Regions from separate parts of the Homo sapiens genome. Here all the other regions are linked to region 3. The links are contacts of gene promoters, found by promoter capture Hi-C in blood cells and fetal thymus (Javierre and others, 2016). All regions are on one chromosome and are shown on one strand. Each heading gives the region's core, a stretch centred on a gene start or on the middle of the fragment in contact. The rest is flanking DNA. Distances are from core to core; before and after follow the strand shown. Region 1 overlaps SETD2 (SET domain containing 2, histone lysine methyltransferase). Region 2 overlaps SETD2 (SET domain containing 2, histone lysine methyltransferase). Region 3 holds the start of KIF9 (kinesin family member 9).

Region 1 (4,072 bases), core at 1,290-3,789, 210 kb after region 3:
ACCTCGTGATCTGCCCGCCTCGGCCTCCCAAAGTGCTGGGATTACAAGCGTGAGCCACTGCGCCCCACCAATTATTTTGTTCTTATAAGTGTTGTTTAGCTCAGGAACAGTCTAAACCAGTGGTAACCTTTTTCTTGTCAGAAAAAGATTTCTTATAAATTATTTAATAATTTTGTTTTAATCCTGTTTCTACAGTATATTTTTAGAGTTTATTTGGGATGTATTAATGAAGTGCTGCATTGCTTCCAATGAGTACCTTTTGAGCCTGTCATAAGAAAACGTTGTAAAGTAAGCCATGTGACCTGGTAGTAGTAGGTAACTTGTTCAAGTGTTTATTAATAGAAAACATACTATATGGAACATACTATTTCGAGTTAAAGACTTTCTACCTTTTACTTTTATTTGTTTTTTTTTTTCTGTATGTTTTGTGTCTGGGCAATCTCCAGCAGTATCACTATATGTTATTGTTTCTTAAATTTCCCCAAATTGTGATCTTTTGCTTTAGCCTGTTTCCTGAATTTCAAATGTATATTTATCACTCTGACCCTGGAAACACAATGTTTTGGGCTGTAGGTGAGGCCTTTAAACAGTAGTTCTTTCCAGGGATAAAAGCGTAGGGTATATGCAGTATTTTGAGTTTATGTAGCACTGTGTAGGTGATTTCTATAAATTAGAAGTAGAATTTCACTTGTTGGTCCATTCAGAAAGGAATTGAGTGTTGATTATGTGCCAGACACTGTTCTTGGTGCTAGAGATACAATAAAGAATAAGACAGTATGGGCCCATAATAATTATAGCTTGAGTGTGTATGAATTGTGTGTTAGTTGAGGTTTGCACCTAGACACTAAAGAAATAAGAGGACAATATGTAAAAAGTATCAGATGGAGTGTGGAAGCAGATTCTTTTAGGTCTGTCTGAGGGCAAGAGCAGTCCTAGAACCTAACTTACAGAATATCAAACCTGCCAGGCATAGTGGCACGCACCTGTAGGCCAGCTACTTGGGAAGCTGAAGATCAAAGCATCCCTTGAGCATGGGAGTTTGAGGGTGCAGTGAGCTATGATCACACCACTGCACTGGACATGATGGCTTCCAGCACTTCGGGAGGCTAAGACAGGAGGATCACTTGAGGCCAGGAGTTTGAGACCAGCCTGGGCAACAGAGCAAGACCCCATCGCTATACACACATATACACACACAATATTAAATCTTAGAACATCCACAGTATTGTCTTCAGTATTCTCTTCCAGTAAATAACATTTTGAGACCTTATAGATCTGAAAAATGTCCTTATTCTATTCTCCCTTGTTTGGCAGATCATATAATTATCATTTTGAAATCTTCTGTTATAGTATGCCAGTCTCTTGAGTGGAATATTTAACAAAGTAAGGTGATCTTACATTAAGGGTTAACATGAATGAAGCCAATTTAAACATTTTCTGTAACAGACTCTGTGGCCTATGGATGTGACATTATTCCAGACAGACTCAAGTATCACTGAGACTAATACTATTATTCACAAGACAGAATGATCTTAAGAAATGTCAAAGTTATCCTCGCGTGGCTGCTTCCTTCTCAGCTTTCAATGTTGTGGGACTTTGGAAAACTTCAGTTGTATTTTCAGGACCCCATTCTCTTAATATATAAAATAAGGAGGAGACAGTAGGTAATTTGAGTTGCCAGCTTAAATTTTGTATGTAGCCTTGACTAGAAAGAGAGAGGATCAAGTTAGCAGCTCCAAGTGCTTAGGTACATATTGATAGAAATTGTTTCTCATGTGATTAGGCACACAGTAAATAGTAGCTCCTGGTCATTAGTCAGTAGTAATCATTATTTTGTGAACATCAAAATACATTTTCAACTTAGTAGTTGATCTAAACTTTTGAACGTAACTAAGAATTTATCTTTGAGAAGCGTTTCTGGTGGTACATTAACTGCCGCTACAGAGTGGGTCCCCAACTTGAGGCCTATGTAATAAATTACTTTAAATTTTTGTAATAAATGCTTATAATGCCAAGATATTATGCAAAAGAAACTAGGTCAAAATTGTGTTATTCTTAGTGGGACCCTCAATACACCAATTCTAAGTACCTTTTGTGAATGAACCTGCTGTCTTTTGGAGTGCCTAGGTTTACAGAGTACCTAATGCAAATGTCATTTCCAAGCTTCTTAAAATTAGCAGAATACCTTTTTTCCCTTATAGTGTGGGTAGATGGTAATAAATGGCGTTCTTACTTTTTCCTGTCTAATAACCCCTCTGAGAGGCAGACAGAGGAGTAAGACACACAGAACTAAGAGTGCCAGCTTGCTCCTTCCTGTCTTTATTCCTGATTCAGTATTACCCACAGCTAGAAATTGACAACTCAGTAACTTCAGATGTCCCTCATAGTAGCAGATGGGAATGTACCCCCTCTCTAAAGGCAAAAGCAGATCAAGAGAAAAGAGAGCCCAGATGTCTCTTAGCTGAGGGCAGGCCTACCTAGTTTTTTCTCCCAGATTCTCTCTTGTGGGGAGGGGTGGGTGAGGATAAGAATAGCCAGTAGTTCAGTAGTTCTCAGCCTTCTCTGTGCATCAGAATCATCTGAGGAGCTTCTAAAAAATACGCATGTCTGGCATCCACATCCAGAGATTTAGATTCACTTTGTCTGGGGTGGTATTTCCATGAACGCTTCTTGGGTGGTTTAATTGTACAACCAGGGTAGAGAATCACAGCTCTAATGAAAGTTCTTCTACATAGGAAGGAGAGGTTAAGGGGATGGAGGATGTCACCTGCATTTGTGCATAAATCTCAGAATGGTACTCCTTCTCAAAATAATGTTGTTAGGCATGTCCTGTGTCATCTAATACAGAAGATAAAAGTGCTCTTGAGTTAGACTGTCTGGTAGCATCATAACCTTGGGTAGATTGCTAAGCTTTTTAAGTAAGTTTCCTTTTTGGAAAATTGAGGTAATAGTACTTACCTCATAGGGTCGTTTTGAAGCTCAAATAAGATAATGTATTTGAAGGGCCGGGTGCGGTGGCTCACATCTGTAATCCCAGAACTTTGGGAGGCCAAGGTGGGCAGATCATGAGGTCAGGAGTTCGAGACCAGTCTGGCCAACATGATGAAACCCCATCTCTACTAAAAATACAAAAATTAGCCAAGCATGGTGGCATGCACCTGTAATCCCAGTTACTGGGGAGGCTAAGGAGAATCGCTTGAACCTGGGAGGTGGAGGTTGCAATGAGCTGAGATCGCACCACTGCACTCCAGCCTGTGCGACAGAGACCCCGGTTCAAAAAACAAAACAAAACAAAAAGATAGGCCGGGCGCAGTGGCTTACGCCTGTAATCCTAGCACTTTGGGAGGCCAGGGTGGGAAGATCATGAGATCAGGAGTTCGAGACCAACCTGGCTAACATGGTGAAACCCTGTCTTTACTAAAAATACAAAAATTAGCTGGGCATGGTGGTGTGTGCCTATAATCCCTGCTACTCAGGAGGCTGAGGCAGGAGAATTGCTTGAACCCAGGAGGCAGAGGTTGCAGTAAGCTGAGATTGTGCCGCTTTACCCCAGCCTGGATGACAGAGCAAGACTCCGTCTCAAAAAAAAAAAAAAAAAAAAAGATAGTGTATTTGAAATGTTCAGCATGATATCTGGCACACAGTATAAGTGCACAATTAATTATAATCATCTTTATTAATTTGTCAGCATGCATATAGTATTGGAGGTTTAAAAAAATTTTTCATTTATATAGATTTCCCTGGATCTGTGCAGTCCATATTGATCCTTTTTAATGGCAACTGAATATTACATCATGACCTTTCCTCAGTTGTGTGACATGTGGCTTATTATTTTTCACAAATATTGTGAGAAGCAACAATTGTGGAGAGGAGGCCACAGGTGTGGTTAATATTATGAGATTCCTCTGAAGGGATGATATCACCTTATGTACTATTGAGAGTGTGTAGGCTTGTTACTGTCCCACTTAAGATGACTGGATAAGAAAGTATTGTGCCCAATAGTTACTCGATGGACGGTGGAATAGTGAAGAGCTGTTAAAGAACAAAATAGGTTCTAGGCCTTAGATAACAC
Region 2 (4,461 bases), core at 1,533-4,032, 170 kb after region 3:
CGATTTTATCATTTTTACTCTAGGATCCATGGGAGAAGAGCCATGCCATGTTATTCTGTTTACTCTGAACAAGGATATATTTAATAATGACTTTAGATTTTCTCAATTGTAGATCAAGTAGTTAGCTGCATTCAAAAAATGAAATTAAAAGTGATTAGAGTAGAAGGAAGGGAAGGTGCACTTACAGAATATAAGTTCTGCAGAGTTGTCAATGTACTGAAAGCTTACATGCAGCCTGAAAATGTATTCTAGACACCTAGGGAGTGGTAGATATTTCTGTGATGACCAGATATCAAGGCTGTATTGTGGGTATGATCTGTTTAAGTAACAATGTAGATACTCAGTTCTAAGGAATCCCTTTGTGATGGAAGGAAAGGAAGACTTAGTTGGGGGTTAGTCATACATATGCTAATTATACCATAAAAGTATGTATATATGTAGTTATACTAACACATTTTTTCAAAGTTACTTTGGTTCTTTTGCTGCTTTAAAGAATTAAATTTCCTCCTTTTCTCATTTCAGTTCTTCTCGGTGTCCAAATGGGGATTATTGTTCCAATAGACGGTTTCAGAGAAAACAGCATGCAGATGTGGAAGTCATACTCACAGAAAAGAAAGGCTGGGGCTTGAGAGCTGCCAAAGACCTTCCTTCGTAAGTTCTTTTTTAATTACCTTTCACTTCCTTTTTTGAGACAAGGTCTCACTCTTTCACCCAGACTGGAGTGCAGTGGCACGATCTTGGCTCACTGGAACCTCTACCTCCCGGATTCAAGCAATTCTCCTGCCTTAGCCTCTCAAGTAGCTGGAACTACAGGCTCATGCCACCATGCCCAGCTAATTTTTTTTGTATTTTTTTGGTAGAGACGTTGTTTCACCATGTTGGCCAGGCTGGTTTCGAACTCTGACCGCAAGTTTTCCGCCCACCTTGGCATCCCAAAGTGCTGGGATTACAGGTGTGAGCCGTCGCGCCTGGGCTTCACTTCATTTTTGTGTTGTTGAACTTAGATGTTTTTGTAGGGAAACAATTTCTTTATTACACTGAGGTTTAATGATGATTATTATGTAGAATGACCACTTGGTAGCTAGTTTGTTGTTAAAAAATCTTTTTTTCTTTTTTGGTAATTATGTTTTCTTTAATTCCAAGCAACTACCAAGTGTTTACTGTGGACCCCCAGAATCTCTATGAAGCTATATAAAAAGAAGTTGGGACAGAATCCATTAGTATACATAAAATTGAGTTGGGATAAGAGTAGAAGAGAAGGCCAGGTGCAGTGGCTCATGCTTGTAATCTCAGCGCTATGGGAAGCTAAGTGGGAGGACTGCTTGAGCCTGGGAGTTCAAGGTTACAGTGAGCTGTGATCACGCCACTGCATTCTAGCCTGGATGGCAGTGATCTCTTGTCTCTTAAAGAAAAAAAAAAAGAGTAGAAGAGAATACCTGAGCATATCAAGGTTAAGAATTAAAACATACTTGATAGATAATCATTAAACATTTCTTGAATGAATAAATGTTGCTTTCCATGTAACTGATGTAAGTTTTTAATGTAATACAGCAAAAGGTTCACTTTATTTTCTACCATATTCAGTATTTCCTGGAAATGTTTAATTTTCTTATATATAGCATATTTAAAGTATTCTTGGCCGGGCATGGTGACTCATGCTTGTAATCCCAGCACTTTGGGAAGCCAAGGTGAGTGGATCACCTGAAGTCGGGAGTTCGAGACCAGCCTGGCCAACATGGCGAAACCCCGTCTCTACTAAAAATACAAAAATTAGATGGGTGTGGTGGCGCACGCCTATAATCCCAGCTACCTGGGAGGCTGAGGTAGGAGAATCGCTTGAACTTGGGAGGTGGAGGTTGCAGTGAGCCGAGATCATGCCACTGCCCTCTAGCCTGGGAGACAGAGCAAGACTCCATCTCGAAAACAAACAAAAAACCCAAAATTACGCTGGACGTGGTGGTTCACGCCTGTAATCCCAGCACTTTGGGAGGCCGAGGTGGGCAGATCACCTGAGGTCAGGAGTTCAAGACCAGCCTGGCCAATGTGGTGAAACCCTGTCACTACTAAAAATACAAAAATTAGCTGGATGTGGTGGCAGGCACCAATAATCCCAGTTACTTGAGGGGCTGAGGCAGGAGAATCTCTTGAACCGGGGAAGCGAAGGTTGCAGTGAGCCGAGATTGCGCCATTGTACTCCATCCTGGGTGACAAGAGTGAAACTCTGTCTCAAAAAACAAAACAAAAATTAGCCAGGCATGATGGCGCACAGCTGTAATCCCAGCTACTCGGGAGGCTGAGGCAGAAGAATTTGCTTGAACCCACGAGGAGGAGGTTGCAGTGAGCCGAGATCATGGCACTGCATTCCAGCCTGGGGGACAGAGCGAGACTGTCTCCAAAAAAAAAAAAAAAAAGTATTCTTAATGAAGGTCAAGTGCCTCTTTGAAGTTAAATATAAACAGATTACATGTGTTTATGGTTGAAACATTTAAAAAATATATAAAAGAAAAAATGGAAGGAAATAAAACATTTGCTGGATTCTAGTAACTTAGACATAACTATTCTTTCAGAACCCTCTGAGCATATGGCCACAGTTGGATGGGAGTTGGAGTTGGGGCAGGACTTGGTGGGGTTTAATCTGTTTATTGTGGGAATTCAAAACACAGGTAATAAAGACAATAATTTTTTTTTCTCACTGTTTTCCCCTTGGCAATAATTTAGTTTTATGACAGGAATCCTCATATATCTTTTGATAAGCAAATTGTTCTTTTTTTTTTTTTCCTTTGAAGATAAGAAATGATGTTGATATTAATCTATCCTTTTGGGAACCAATCAGAAAGCAACATGTTTTGTTACACAAAAAGGGGGCTAGTAGGAACCTCATAGATTTCTCTTCTCCTCTAAGTTTTGTAAAAACACACCCTGGCTCATAACTGGTTTTTATTGTTTTTTATTTTTTTGAGACAGGGTCTTGCCCTGTCACCCTCGCTGGAGTATCCTGGCGCAATCATAGCTCACTGCAGTGTCGACCTCCCAGGCTCAATTTATCCTCCTGCCTCAGCCTTCTGAGTAGCTGAGACTATAAGTGTGAGCCAGTATGCCCAGCTACTTTATTTTTCTATTTTTTGTAGAGATGGGGTCCTCACTATGTTGCCTAGGCTTCTCATAACTGGTTTTTAATTGTTTATTTGAAGCAAATATCCCACAGAATTGTCATATGCCCCATATCCATTCATTGGATTCTTTATAATATTTTAAACAAATAATTGGTTACACTTCCTTTGAACACTGTTGATACAGAACTCAATACCTCTCAAAGCAGCCCATTGAATTTCCAAAATCACTAGTTCTAGTCCAGACGCACATTTTCAAAGATGCCTTCTTTCATTCTGCCCTAGCCAGCCAGGCCTTCTTGAGATTTTTTTTTTTTTTTTTTTTTTTTTTTTTTTTAAAGGAACCACAGTTTGGACACAAGCCTCTCTTACAGGGACAATAGTGGATGAGCTGTCTGGATGCTGGTCTTTTGTGGTATCTGCAGTAAAACACATAGCTTCAAACCTGATCTAAATTCTGTTACTTGCAACAGACACTCTTTGATAGCTCAGTGCTCTTCTCATATTAAGGGGAAAGGAGACTGGGGAAGGGAGGAAAGGATATATGGCTCCAGTTTATAAGCCAGGTTAAAATTTCCTAAAGCTCTTCCGTTTTCTTCAGCTATTCACAGAGAACCCTGCTTTGGTAAAATATACTAGGACTTAATGTTTCCATGTTTCCCATACCTTCCTACTCCTATAACTGCCACATGATGATGTGTAATACCAATAGTTTATGAATTTCATAAACTAGTCAAAACTCTTGCGTTGTTTACTGGTAGAGTATTACCATTTAATAAGGACAGATTGTCAGAGCTACACAGGATGAGAAATTATTTGGAGCTAAGTTACTAGTTAGTGTTAAAGTGCCATGGCAGACCCCACCAAAAAAGCAGGTTATTACCAAAACCCCTGTAGTTTTAGGAAATCTCCCAGTTGTAGGAAGAGAAGGCAGTCCAGGTTGACTTAATGTAATTGGATACCAGATAGGGTTTTAATTGAGGTAAAATTCACATAATATAATATTGACCATTTTAAAGTTTACAATTCAGTACCATTTAGTGCATTCATAATCTTGTGCAACTGCCACTTTTGTCTGTGTCCAAAACATTTTCATCATCTGAAAAGGGAACTAACTCTGCCTGTTAAGCAGAATCTTCTCATACCTGCCTCCTCCCAGGCCTGGCAGCCACTAATTTGCTGTCTGTTTCTGTGGGTTGATCTATTCTCGGTATTTCGTATAAATGAAATTATACAATATGTGGCCTTTTGTGTCTGGCTTCTTTCACTTAGCATTATGTTTTTGAGGTTTCATCTGTATTGCAGCATGTGTCAGCACTTAATTCCTATTTATGGCTGAATAATACTCTCT
Region 3 (4,002 bases), core at 597-3,096:
GAAGAGCAGGCTGGGCGCGGTGACTCACGCGTGTAATTCTAGCACTTTGGGAGGCCGAGACAGGCAGACTGCTGAAGCTCAGGAGTTCGAGACCAGCCTGAGCAACATGGTGAAACCCTGTCTCTACTAAAAATAGAAAAAATTAGCCAGGGGTAGTGGTGCGCGCCTGTAGTCCCAGCTGCTGGGGAGGCTGAGGCAGGAGAATCGCTTGAACCCAGGAGAGAGAGTTTCAGTGAGCCAAGATAGCGCCACTGCACTCCAGCCTGGGCAACAGAACGAGACTCCGTCTCAAAAAAAAAAAAAAAAAGAAAAAAGAAAAGAAGAGCAAAAGAATCTCTGCATAGTTTTATTTTTTCTTTTATTTATTTATTTGTGTGTGTGTGTGTGTGTGAGAGAGACAGAGAGAAATAGGAGAAATAGGATCTTGCTGTGTTGCCCAGGCTGGAGTGCAGTGGTGTGATTACAACTCACTGCAGGCTTGACCTCCTAGGCTCAAGCGATCCTCCCACCTCACCCTCCTGAGTAGCTGGGACTACGGGCACAGGCTACCATGCCCAGACAATTTTTTATTATTTGTAGAGACAGGGTCTCCCTACATAGCCCAGGCTGGTCTCCAATTCCCCCACTCAAGTGATCCTCTCGCCTCTCAAAGTGCTGGGATTACAGGTGTGAGCCACCATGCCTGCCCTGTTTGTTTTTTAAACAGGGATCACGCACAGATGCTGAGAGCTTTCCAGCTAAAGCCCAACAGGGAGCCCCACTGATCATCTCCCCAACCGGACGTCTCCACATGGTTCGGTGGCTTGGCCAGGCAGCAGCACAGCATGCCTCTTCCTCATGAAAAGACCCAGGCACAGGAGGGAGGCTGGCTCTAGCGACCAGAATGCTGGTGGGGAACAGGTGGTTAAGATATCTTTCCCTCTTAATATCAGTCAGCATCCCTCTCCCCACGCGGCCAGCAGGCCCAGCCCCGGGGACCTTTGTGGTGGTGAGTGGTGCCTTCCAGTATGGGGCAGGGTGGCTTCCCACCTCAAAAATTTTCCAGAGAAGATTTTAAAAGCTCTTAAGAGACAAAGTAGTAATTCAACAATTAAGGGCAATGATTCCTAAGGAGAAGCCTTCTCTTCTAGAACAGCACAGCCAAGTTCGACAGGCACAAAGAAATATCTGTAGTGACAAGAGAAGGTTCTTCAGTGGTGCCCATCAGCATGTGGAGCCGGCCACCGCCCCTGCCTCCATAGAAGGTAAGTCCATTTTCTCTTGTCTGCATGACAGAAAAAGGAGGCTGTCACCCGTGTCTCCCACTCCAAGGGCCTAAGCGGCGCACCTCTCAACCTTTCCTTTCAAGGGCTGAAAGGTTGTCCTCTTCCTCTCCCCACTCGGCCCCGATCCCCTTTTGCTCGGCACCTCTCTCCCCACTACTCGGCCCCCCTCACACCTCTTCTCCCCACCCCTCTCCCTGCTAGACCTCTCTTTCTCTGTCCCCCGCCCCTTTTTACTCCCCGCTCGACCCCTTTTCCCTCAGCCCGCTGCCGCCCAGTCCGCGGTACCTTGAGGGTCACGTCGCACAGCTTGCCCTGCCGCCGGATCTCCTCCATGACGCCGTAGCCGCGACTAGGCAACTCAGACACGGAGAAGTGCACCAGATCCTCCAGCTCCTCCGCGCCGTCCTCCACCATCTTCCCCGGCCGCTGCAACTGCGCAGGCCTCGCCGGCCGGCTAGACACTAACCAGGGCGGGGCGATAGCGCACGCCGACAGCCGCTCGGAGCGCGGAGCAGCAATCGGACGGGCCTCCGCGGCCGCCGTAGTTGAATCTCCTCGGCGCCGGAAGCCCCGCCACTCCGCTTCCTGGTTCATGTGCGGCCTTCGTTCCCTCGCTATCTCGACCTTGACTTCGCATGTGCATCCGCCGAAGTCTTTCTAGATCAATCGGCCCCATCTCTCGTCTTCCCGATTCGGCCATGACCTCACCCGTATCCTCGACGTAGGACCTCGGACTTCATTTCCGCCACCCCGACACTTCCGGAATCCCCGGAAGCGACCCGTTGCCATGGCGACTATGTACACAGCCAGGCAGCCCCGCGTGGGGAGTGCAGGTGGTTTCGGTTGCGGCAGTCGCGTCCCGGGAGCGTCGCTGCCTGGTGAACGGTGAGCAGGGGCTGCTCGCCGGTGGGAGTGGGGAGACGGGAAAAGGGTGTGCGCCCGGACTGCTGAAAGTGGCTGGGGTCCAAAAACCGCTTTATCTGGGGGTTCCCAGCTGGGTCGCTCATCTCTGAAACCCAGGCGAAGGAGGGCTCGACGTCGCGGGAGTCCTTTCAACCTGACCGCGGCTTACGGTCTTCGGAGCTAATGTTCATTGGTCCCACAAAGGGGTCCCACGTCGCGTCCAGGACATAGAGGCCGTGAGGCAGGGAGCCAGAGGTCGTCTGGACTCTTCCGTACTAGTCAGTTTTCGAACTAGAGGGGGCTTTGGGATCACCAGTCGGAGCCCTTCGTGTTACAGGTGAGGAAACCTCTCCAGAGAGGGACCGGAATGGGTCCAAAGCCCACTGCCGCCCAGGCTCCACGCGGGGGTCCGGCACATTGGGTGAGAAAAAGGAGAAAGTCTAGTTTTGCCTGCATCCTAGTCTTGTTCAGCCAAGGCCAGGTGCAGTTGGACCCAGTGTTTTGGATTCGGGTGTTGGTGCTGCCGCTACGGGTAGCTATGAGGGTTCCCCATGACAGCCCCTCATCTGGACGGGAGCACTGGAAGATAGGGACCCACCTGGTGCCTTCCACCCCACCAAACGCTCCCTTTCCTCTTGTCTAGTCTTCATGGCTGCTTGTTGCCAATTCTGTTCATTCCCACTAAAGACAAATGAGGAAACCTCGAGCGCCTTAACACAGAAGTCTCCTGGTGGCCATTCAGAGACTTGCTTTGTTATACCAGAAATATCAAAGGGTGGTTCCCCAAGGAGAGACATTCCCCACAAGGTCCTGAGGGAGAAAGGGAGGGGGCCGGGCGCCGTGGCTCACGCCTGTAATCCTAGCACTTTGGGAGGCTGAGGTGAGCGGATTGCTTGAGCTCAGGAGTTCAAGACCAGCCTGGGCAACATGGCGAAACCCTGTCTCTACGAAAAATACAAAAATTACCCGGGCGTGGTGGTGCACGCCTGTAGTCCTAGCTACTTGCGGGGCTGAGGTGGGAGGATCGCTTGAACCCAGGATGTGGAGGCTACGGTGAACCGAGATTGTTTCACTGCACTCCAGCCTAGGTGACAGAGTGAGACCCTGTCACAAAAACAAATAAACAAAAAACAAAAACAAAAACAAAAAAAGCGTGTGGTGAGGTGCTGGATGTGGATTTTTGCACCTGGAAACCAAGTGTCCTCCTGGAAGGGCTGTGGGCTTTGGTTGGAGTTGTCATGGAAGGGGAGTGACATCATATGCCCCTTGGGACTCTCTCAGTAGTGACTGAAGATAGACCCACATATGAAGATTCAGCTGCCCTCTGACTTCCAGCCATTACCATCACCAACCACCGCCATTTCCTGAATACCTACTCTGTGCTGGGCTCTGCCCTGGACATTGTGAGGGGATTCAAAAGAGATAAAAAGCACAATCCTTGCCTTCAAGCAGCTTGTAATTTAATTTTGGGAACTGAAACCCACTCAAATGAAGCGACGTAAGAATGGTAACAAGCAGTATTTCAGTAAGTGCAAGATGGCATGGGGTCCCTAAATGTTTGGGTGTTAAAGGGCTGCTGAGTAGCAGGCTCACAAGACGGGTGTGCAAAGGAAGACTTTATTGCAGGTGGATATGGCTCCTGGCCTGCTTGGAGCCATGGTGTCAGCATGGGAGGGCCTTGGGAAGCATACATGGGGTGACTGCGTGTGCATGTGCATGTTGGCAAATAGCAGGGCAGAGAAGGGCCAGGCTCTGGAGGGAGAGTGATGCTTTTGCTTATTTGTTTTGTTTTGTTGAGACAGTCTCACGCTGTTGTCCAGGCTGGAGAGCAGTG

What was found. The method cuts DNA at HindIII sites, captures the fragments that hold promoters and counts their contacts. A CHiCAGO score of 5 or more calls a contact.
Region 1: a contact is called between a fragment that was not itself captured here and the fragment with the promoter of KIF9 in region 3, in 2 of 17 cell types (endothelial precursors and naive B cells). The highest score is 5.5, in endothelial precursors.
Region 2: a fragment that was not itself captured here is called in contact with the fragment with the promoter of KIF9 in region 3 in 2 of 17 cell types (naive B cells and total B cells); the score reaches 5.9 in naive B cells.

What each region holds. Positions count from the first base shown.
Region 1 is chr3:47,068,024-47,072,095 of GRCh38, reverse strand. The region is part of intron 12 of SETD2 (SET domain containing 2, histone lysine methyltransferase); the gene reads left to right. Among named protein-coding and RNA genes, the nearest start is that of NBEAL2, 90 kb to the right of the region's middle. The HindIII fragment of the contact is 747 bases long and covers 2,166-2,912 here.
Region 2 is chr3:47,110,066-47,114,526 of GRCh38, reverse strand. It overlaps SETD2 (SET domain containing 2, histone lysine methyltransferase), which reads left to right. Exons shown (of 21, transcript NM_014159.7): 5 at 523-651. Among named protein-coding and RNA genes, the nearest start is that of SETD2, 52 kb to the left of the region's middle. RefSeq lists enhancers at 1-309, 310-817. The HindIII fragment of the contact is 5,114 bases long and covers 226-4,461 here.
Region 3 is chr3:47,280,643-47,284,644 of GRCh38, reverse strand. It overlaps KIF9 (kinesin family member 9), which reads left to right and starts at 1,846. Exons shown (of 21, transcript NM_182902.4): 1 at 1,846-2,150. It overlaps KLHL18 (kelch like family member 18), which reads right to left and starts at 1,701. Exons shown (of 10, transcript NM_025010.5): 1 at 1,551-1,701. The coding sequence starts at 1,679. RefSeq lists enhancers at 1,718-2,107, 1,323-2,522. The HindIII fragment of the contact is 6,231 bases long and covers 1-4,002 here.